3 separate regions of the Homo sapiens genome follow, and regions 2 and 3 are each linked to region 1. The links are contacts of gene promoters, found by promoter capture Hi-C in human tissues and cell types (Jung and others, 2019). All regions are on one chromosome and are shown on one strand. Each heading gives the region's core, a stretch centred on a gene start or on the middle of the fragment in contact. The rest is flanking DNA. Distances are from core to core; before and after follow the strand shown.

The links. Contacts are between HindIII fragments. The study calls those that stand out against the background at their distance.
Region 2: a contact is called between a fragment that was not itself captured here and the fragment with the promoter of USP43 in region 1, in 2 of the 25 tissues and cell types used here (bladder and neural progenitor cells).
Region 3: a contact is called between a fragment that was not itself captured here and the fragment with the promoter of USP43 in region 1, in 1 of the 25 tissues and cell types used here (dorsolateral prefrontal cortex).

Annotation. Positions count from the first base shown.
Region 1 is chr17:9,644,083-9,646,782 of GRCh38, reverse strand. USP43 (ubiquitin specific peptidase 43) reads right to left here and starts at 1,266. Exons shown (of 15, transcript NM_153210.5): 1 at 647-1,266. The coding sequence starts at 1,150. LOC124903924 (a long non-coding RNA gene) reads left to right here and starts at 1,356. Exons shown (of 2, transcript XR_007065615.1): 1 at 1,356-1,547; 2 at 2,276-2,700. LOC107985011 (a long non-coding RNA gene) reads left to right here. Exons shown (of 3, transcript XR_001752790.2): 3 at 66-678. It also overlaps a transcript of CFAP52 not described here. RefSeq lists an enhancer at 378-1,025 and a silencer at 1,334-1,393. The HindIII fragment of the contact is 10,149 bases long and covers 1-2,700 here.
Region 2 is chr17:9,602,162-9,604,996 of GRCh38, reverse strand. The region is part of intron 6 of CFAP52 (cilia and flagella associated protein 52); the gene reads right to left. Among named protein-coding and RNA genes, the nearest start is that of CFAP52, 27 kb to the right of the region's middle. The HindIII fragment of the contact is 6,180 bases long and covers 1-2,835 here.
Region 3 is chr17:9,706,849-9,709,773 of GRCh38, reverse strand. All of the region lies in intron 12 of USP43 (ubiquitin specific peptidase 43), which reads right to left. Among named protein-coding and RNA genes, the nearest start is that of USP43, 63 kb to the right of the region's middle. RefSeq lists a silencer at 762-926. The HindIII fragment of the contact is 4,633 bases long and covers 1-2,925 here.

The DNA of each region.
Region 1 (2,700 bases), core at 17-2,516:
CCTGTAGGTTGTCAGATTCCACTGGGCTTAGAATAAAATCCAAACTCTTTACCGTTGCCTCCTAGGTCTTACGTGATCTGGCGAAACTCATCTGCCTCCTAAGCTCCAACGCCACTGCTTTTCTTTCCCTGTCTCCAGCACTCAGCTCCTTCGGGTCTATGGCAATTGTACTTGCTGTTCCTCCTGCCTGGATTAGTCCTACAGCTTGCCCTGACTGCATCCTTCTCATCATTCAGATCTCAACGCAAGCATCACCTCCTTCCTCTGAGGCCTTGGCCTTCAACATCCCATTCCCTACCCCACATCATTCCAGACTGGAAGCTCTAGAGCTGGCATTAGAACACTGTCTGGCCCACAAGCCTTCAATACTTCAACAAATGCTTGTTGAATCCAAAAACGCTGATTACCCTTCAATCTGCCAGCTCACCCCACTCCCTCTCAAAATACCTAGGAGAATTAATTTACAAAGAAAACATAAGCAAGCGACAGCGTAACACATCGACTCAAAACAAAGCCGGTAATCCGGGGCTGAACTGGTCAACGGCATTTAAAGAAGGCCCCAAGAAAACCCTTTCCTGATCGTGCACACACTTTTCAAGAGGCGAAACCAGGGGGACAGGGCGGTCGGCGGCGCAGCGCTGCCTACCTTGAACTCCGCGGAAAGTTGGGGCGTGTATTCGCGAGTCCAGAGCGCGCGCACCAGCGCCGCCAGCTGCTCGGTGACCTCGGCGCGGCCCGGAGCCGCCCGGTAGCGCCCCAGCGCCAGGAACTCGGCCAGCAGGTCGGTGTTGCTGAGACACTGCACCACCGCGTTCATGAAACAGGTGTTGCCGTGGTTCTTCAAGCCCTGAGCGCCCGGCGGCCGCGCCCCATCGCCGGCGGGGAGCTGGAGCTGGGGCTGGGGTCCGGGCGGGCGTTCCTCCCCGGGGCTCCCGGGGGCCGCTGGAACTGGGCCCGGGGCGCAGGCGAAGCCCCCCTCACCGTCGCCATCACAGTGTCCCGGCTGGGGCCGGGGCGGTGAGTCCCCGGGGCGTGAGCGGCTGCCCAGCGCCAGCAGGAAGCGGCTGAACAGGCGGCGCAGGGAGCGGCGGCGGCGGGGCCGGGGCGCGAGCGGTCCCCCTCCTGCCGCGTCCCCGGGGCCCAGGTCCATGGCTGCCGCCGGCGCAGCTCCAGGCGCGGAGCCCCCGGGCGCGAGGCGGACGAGCGGCCAGCAGGCCCTACAGCTTCTCTAAGGCTCCTGGTGCCGGCTACCTGCGGGCCAGGTGTGCGGGGACGGGGCGGAGGCGGAGCCAAGGGCGGGGCAGCCCCGCCCCGCGCGGGAATCCGGCGGCACGACCAGCCCCCTCCAGGGCAGCGCCGGGCCACCCCTACCCCTGCCTGGTGCCGCCCCCGCTGCGCTGACTGGGAGTCTTCGTGGTCGGATTCCCCACCCTTCCTTACCTCGTAAACCGACAGACCTGGGTTTCGCCGCTGCTCCTGTTCCTCGAGCAGCCTTCAAGCAGTGGAAATTACGGAGAAATGAACATTCTGAAAGCGCCTAGTAAATGGTAAAGGCCTGGCTACTGCAGGAAGAAAAGGGCAAGGCAGGCATCTCCAGAGCACAGCCTCGGGCGTGGTGAGAGGCGCGCGCTGGGCGCTGTGTGGGGGTGGGGAGCGCTTTTGTGCACCGCTGGTTCCTCCGCAGGCTCAGGTGTGTGCGGACAGGTGTCGCCACCTCCTTCCAGACCGTCTGCCCCTTGGGGGGAGGCAGAGTCTGTGCCTGCACCCGCCAACCCGGGACCTGAACTGGGAGCCACGTGTTGCCCTGTGAAAAAAGCCCCCGAGTGGTTGTGGTTTGCTTTTTTACACCACAGATTGGGTTAGAATCATTTTCCAAAAACTTGCAAGACTTGATCACCCTTGCTTTAATCGGCAAGGAAGGGGGCTCAGAGAGGTTATCGCAACGTAGGGAGGCCGCCCGATCCGTAAGCAGGGAAACCGGAACTCGACCTGGATCTATGGACTGCCAAGTTCAGGCCCTTTCCAGCCTCAGTATTTGCTAACCAGGAAGTTTTCAGGCTCTCAGGCGCGCCCCCTACGCGGTTTCTGGTTCACTCCTTAACGCACGATCCTTGTTGAATGATTGCCCAATCAGAATTAGTTTGGCCTTGCCCCGCCCTTGATTCCCTGGGTAACCCTGGGCCCCTCCCCCACCCCTCACTTTATCCCATGCAACTGTCAGGTTTATAATTAATCAGGCAAGGTCTTGCAAAATGACTTTCTCGTCAATTTCTAGCTCAGGAAGAGATCAGCACCATGTGAGATGCAGTATTCTAACGCTCTGAAATGTTACTTGTTGTTTAATAAGTGATCATCATTTATTAAATATTCTTGATCCTGGCCGGGCGCGGTGGCTCACGCCTGTAATCCCAGCACCTTGGGAGGCCGAGACGGGCGGATCACCTGAGGTCAGGAGTTCAAGACCAGCCTGGCCAACATGGTGAAACCCCGTCTCGACTAAAAATACAAAATTAGCCAGGCGTGGTGGCGCATGCCTGTAATCCTAGCTACTCAGGAGGCTGAGGCAGGAGAATCGCTTGATTCAGTGAGCCGAGATCGCGCCATTGCACTCCAGCCGGGCGACAAGAGCTAAATTGCGACAAGAGCTAAATTCCGTCTCAAAAAACAAACAAACAAACAAAAAACTTGATCTTTCAAACC
Region 2 (2,835 bases), core at 58-2,557, 42 kb after region 1:
TCCCATCAGCAATGAACAATAGTACTCACTGCTCTCCATCTCTGTCAATATTAGGTGTTGTTAGTGTTCTGGATTTTGGCCATTTGAAAAGGTATGTAGTCGTGCCTCATTGCTGTTTTAATTACATTTCCCGGCTGATATAAGACATAGAGTATCTTTCCATATGCTTACTTGCCATCTGTATATCTTCTTTTATTTATTTATTTATTTATTTATTTATTTATTTATTTATTTATTTATTTATTTTGAGACAGAGTCTTGCTGTGTCCCCCAGGCTGAAGTGCAATGGCGTGATCTCACTGCCGGGTTCAAGTGATTCTCCTGCCTCAGCCTCCCTAGTAGCTGGGATTACAGGCTCACACCACCACACTTGGCTAACTTTTGTATTTTTAGTAGAGACGGGGTTTCACCATGTTGGCCCCGCTGGTCTTAAACTCCTGACCTCAGGTGATCGGCCCGCCTCAGCCTCCCAAAGTGCTGGGATTACAGGCACAAGCCACTGCGCCCGGCTGCCATCTGTATATCTTCTTTAGGGGAGGTGGCAGTTAAGGTCTTTGGCCCATTTCTTATTGTTGAGTTTTAAAAGTTCTCTGTATATTTTGGGTAACAGTCCTTATTCAGGTATGTCTTTTGCCAATATTTCCTCTCACTCTGTATCTTTATTTTTCATTCTCTTGACAGTGTCTTTCATGGAGCAGAATTTTTGATTTTAAGGAAGTCCAGCTTTTCAATTCTTTCTTTCATGGGTATTATAGCTAAAAGTTATCACCACATCTTAGGTCTTCTGGATTTTATCTTTCAGGAGTTCTATTGTTTTGTGTTTTAGGTCTGTAATCCATTTTGAGTTAATTTTTGTGAAAGGTATAAGGTCTGTGTCTAGGCTTTTTTATTTTTATTTTTTGGTTTTCCAGGTGTTTAGCATTATTTATTAAAAAGACGATCTTTTTTTCCATTGTATTTCCTTTGCTCTTTCACCAATGATCAGTTGACTATGTGAATTCATGTTTGGGCTCTCTATTCTGTCCCATTGATCCATTTATCTATTCTTTCACCAACCCTACACTGTCTTGATTACTGTAGTTTTATGGTAAGTCTTGAAATCTGGTAGTGTCACTCCTCCAACTGTGTTCTTCTTCAATATTGTGCTTTCTTTTTTTAAAAATTATACTTCAAGTTCTGGGATACATGTGCAGAACATGCGGGTTTGTTACATAGGTGTACATGTGCCATAGTGGTTTGCTGCACCCATCAACCCGTCATCTACATCATCTATATTACCCGTCATCTACATTAGGTATCAATATTGTGCTTTCTAGTCGGAGTCTTTTGCCCCTCTGTGTAAACTGTAGAATCAGTTTGTCTACAGACACAAAATAACTTGCTGGGATGTTTATTGGGATTGCAGTAAATCTATAGTTCAAATTAAGAAGAACTCATATCGTGACAATACTGAGTCTTCCTATCCATGAACATGAAATATCTACTTAGGGCCGGGTGTGGTGGCTCACGCCTGTAATCCCAGCACTTTGGGAGGCCGAGGCGGGTGGATCACGGGGTCAGGAGATCGAGACCATCCTGGCTAACACGGTGAAACCCCGTCTCTACTAAAAATACAAAAAAGTTAGCTGGGCATGGTGGTAGGCGCCTGTAGTCCCAGCTACTCTGGAGACTGAGTCAGGAGAATGGCGTAAACTCTGGAGGCAGAGCTTGCAGTGAGCCGAGATAGTGCCACTGCACTCCAGCCTGGGCGACAGAGCGAGACTCTGTATCAAAAAATAATAACAATAATAAAAAAGAATTTCAGCATCCACAGGTGACTTAAGTGCCAAAGGTTTGAGAAACCTAAGATAGCCAGCATCTTTGCTGGACAGATATTTCGTTCCCAAGTGCTAGGAAAACAAAACAAAACAAAACAAAAAATCCACTAGTTTTCAGGTAGTGTTACATGGAGCTCTTTGGAGGCATCTCAGGAGTTGGCACTGGCAGGGCTCTAAGACTTGCTCTCCTTAACCTGATGTGCTTTGTTTTTATTTGTTTAATATATTAGAATTCCTATCCTATATGAACACACACTTCTCAAAAGAAGATATTTATGCGGCCAACAAACATATGAGAAAAAGCTCATTATTACTGGTCATTAGAGAAATGTAAATCAAAACTGCAATGCGATACCATCTCACGTTAGTTAGAATGGCGATCATTAAAAAGTCAGGAAACAACAGATGCTGGGGAGGATGTGGAGAAATAGGAACACTTTTACACTGTTGGTGGGAGTGTAAATTAGTTCAGCCATTGTGGAAGACAGTGTGGTGATTCCTCAAGGATCTAGAACCAGAAATACCATTTGACCCAGCAATCCCATTACTGCGTATATACTCAAAGGATTATAAATCATTCTACATGCACATGTATGTTTATTGTGGCACTATTCACAATAGCAAAGACTTGGAACCAACCCAAATGTCCATCAATGATAGACTGGATAGAAAGAAAATGTGGCACATATACACCATGGAATACTATGCAGCCATAAAAAAGAATGAGTTCATGTCCTTTGCAGGGACATGGATGAAGCTGGAAACCATCATTCTCAGCAAACTAAAACAGGAACAGAAAACCAAACACCGCATGTTCTCATTCATAAGTGAGAGTTGAACAATGAGGACACATGGACACAGGGAGGGGAACATCACACACCGGGGCCTGTCAGGGGTGGGGGCTAGAAAAGGGATAGCATTAAGAGAAATACTTAATGTAGACGACGGGTTAATGGGTGCAGCAAACCACCATGGCACGTGTATACCTATGTAACAAACCTGCACGGTCTGCACATGT
Region 3 (2,925 bases), core at 299-2,798, 63 kb before region 1:
CTTACTATAACAAGTGCTGTTATTATTTTTATTTATTTATTTATTTTTATTTATTTTTGAGACGGAGTTTCGCTCTGTCACCCAGGCTGGAGTGAAGTGGCGCGATCTCGGCTCACGGCAACCTCCACCCCCCGGGTTCCAGTGATTCTCCTGCCTCAGCCTCCTGGGTAGCTAGGATTACAGTTGCCTGCCACCACACCCGGCTAATATTTATATTTTTATTAGAGATGGGGTTTCACCATGTTGACCAGGCTGGTCTCGAACTCCTGACCTAAGATGATCCACCCACCTCGGCTTCCCAAAGTGCTGGGATTACAGGCCTGAGCCACCATGCCCGGCCAAGAGTGCTGTTATTTTAAGTTGAATATTCTACCCCTTCATCAGGCAAAATCTCAAATAAAAGGGAGCTCCCAAGTTAGGTAGCCAAACAATAATGTCAGCGTTCACCCCATTTCTTCTGAGAAGCTTCAAAATGCATATCTCTGATTAAGCATGCAATAAAAGTGAAGATGAGAATCACAATTGGGCTTATGGCATACCTCTTTCTAAGAACTGAAGTCAAACGTCTAAGGAAAATTCATAAATATTCTCACCATTTCTCAAGTAACGACAACAAAATATCCGTTTCCTTGCCCTCTACGTGTCAGCAAATGACAGCATAACCCAGTAATCTGGAAGTTTGCAAACTTTTCCCATAAGGGACCAGATGACAAATATTGAGACTTTGCAGGTCACATATGGCCACATATATTCTCTGTCGCATATTCTGCGTGTCTTTCTCCCACTTTTAAAATTGTAAAAACCATTTTTAACCCATAGATTATTAATAAACGGGGGAAAAAAAACAGGCCGGGCGTGGTGGTTCATGCCTTTAATCCCAGCACTTTGGGAGGCCGAGGTGGGCAAATCACGAGGTCAGGAGTTCGAGACCAACCTGGCCAACATGGTGAAACCCCGTCTCTATTAAAAATACAAAAAATTAGCTGGGCGTAGTGGTGCACGCCTGTAATCCCAGCTACTTGGGAGGCTGAGGCAGGATAATCGCTTGAACCCAGGAGGCAGAGGTTGCAGTGAGCCAGGATCACGCCACTGCACTCCAACCCGGGCAACACAGTGAGACTCCGTCTCAAAAAACAACAACAACAACAAAAAACAGGCCCTAGATTGGATCCGGCCCGTGGGCCACAGTTTGCTGACCTCCACACTAATCCAAGCCAGCCACCTAGGAGTTCATCTTTGCTCTTGCTTTTCCGTTCCGCCCCACACCTAATCCAAAAGCCAGACCTACTGATTCTACTTCCAAACTATGTCTCGAATATCTTGATTGTCAACACCAACATCTCAGCCAGTGGTGTCTCTCACTCGGCCCCTGAAGCACCCTCCTAACTGGAATTCCAGCTTCCACTCTAGATCCCTTCTACACATTCTCCATACAGCAGAGCAACTAGTTTGATTTGTACACTAGATTATGTCTTCACTCCTCTGCTTAGAACCTTTAAATGATTTATCACCCCTTTGGAAAAAATGCAAACTCCCATCCGTGGCCTAGAGTGTCCTGCCCACTTCTCCAGCCCCACCCTTCATCAATTACCCCTGAATGGCTACACTTCATCCAGGCTGTCATCATGTCTTAAACACACCGAATGCTTTCTGCCTCAGGGCCTTTGCACATGCTACGAGCTCTGCTCATAATGCAATTCATCCCATTATTCACATAGCTAGTTCTATCTCATCCTCAGCTCTGAGCCTACATGTGACATCCTTGCAGAGGCCTTATGTCTATCACAGACACAGTCAATCAGTCGCCCTTTCAAAATGTCAGGTAGTGAAAGTGCTAAAATGATAAGCACATTTTATTGTCTGTCTCCAAAGTGAGACTGAAGTCCCATGAGGGCAGGCCTTGTATTTGTCTTGTTCATCACTGAAGCTCCAGGACCTGGCATAGAACAGGTACTTAATATACATTTGTGCAATGAATTAATGAGCAAAGATCCTGGATTTCTATATAGTTTGGTGTCTTCCAAATTGCCAGTCATCAGCCCATCGGGACACTGGTAATCAGTGCATTAAAAAAAAATGTTTAATAAATAAAAAATGAAATATTTTAAAGCTTTTTTTTTTTTTTTTGAGACAGAGTCTCGGTCTGTCGCCCAGGCTGGAGTGCAGTGGCATGATCTCGGCTCACTGCAAGCTCCACCTCCCGGGTTCACGCCATTCTCCTGCCTCAGCCTCCCGAGTAGTTGGGACTACAGGCGCCTGCCACCACACCCGGCTAATTGTTTTGTATTTTTATTAGAGACGGGGTTTCACCATGTTAGCCAGGATGGTCTTGATCTCCTGACCTCGTGGTCCGCCCACCTCGGCCTCCCAAAGTGCTGGGATTACAGGCGTGAGCCACCGCGCCTGGCCAAAGCATTTTTAAAATTAAGTAATATGTTATTCTGGAATAGAATGGACCAAGGTATATCACATGTAGTAAATTTAATTATCGACTCATGAAATTCTGTTTAGTCTTAATCTATGTATGTACACATAAACACACATGTGCGCGTACGTAAATGGATGCGCACATCAGGAGGTCATGATGGAACCCAGTGTTTCATTTTGCCATTTAGTCAAGTGCCTCATCATCATATTTTATTTCATTTAACATCTTTTAAGTTTATTTTGATATGTAAAATGGCAAACAAAAATCCACTAAAAACAAAAAATACATCTATGGTATGATAGCATTTATGTAAAAGTATATGGCAGCTTGAAAGTTACCAATTGTTGGGGCCTACAATATGAGAAGCATCTTACATATGTTAGTTCTAGTCATAAAAATCCCAGGCTGGGCACGGAGACTCACGCCTGTAATCCCAGCACTTTGGGAGGCCGAGGCGGGCAGATCATGAGGTCAGGAGTTCAAGACCAGCCTGGCTA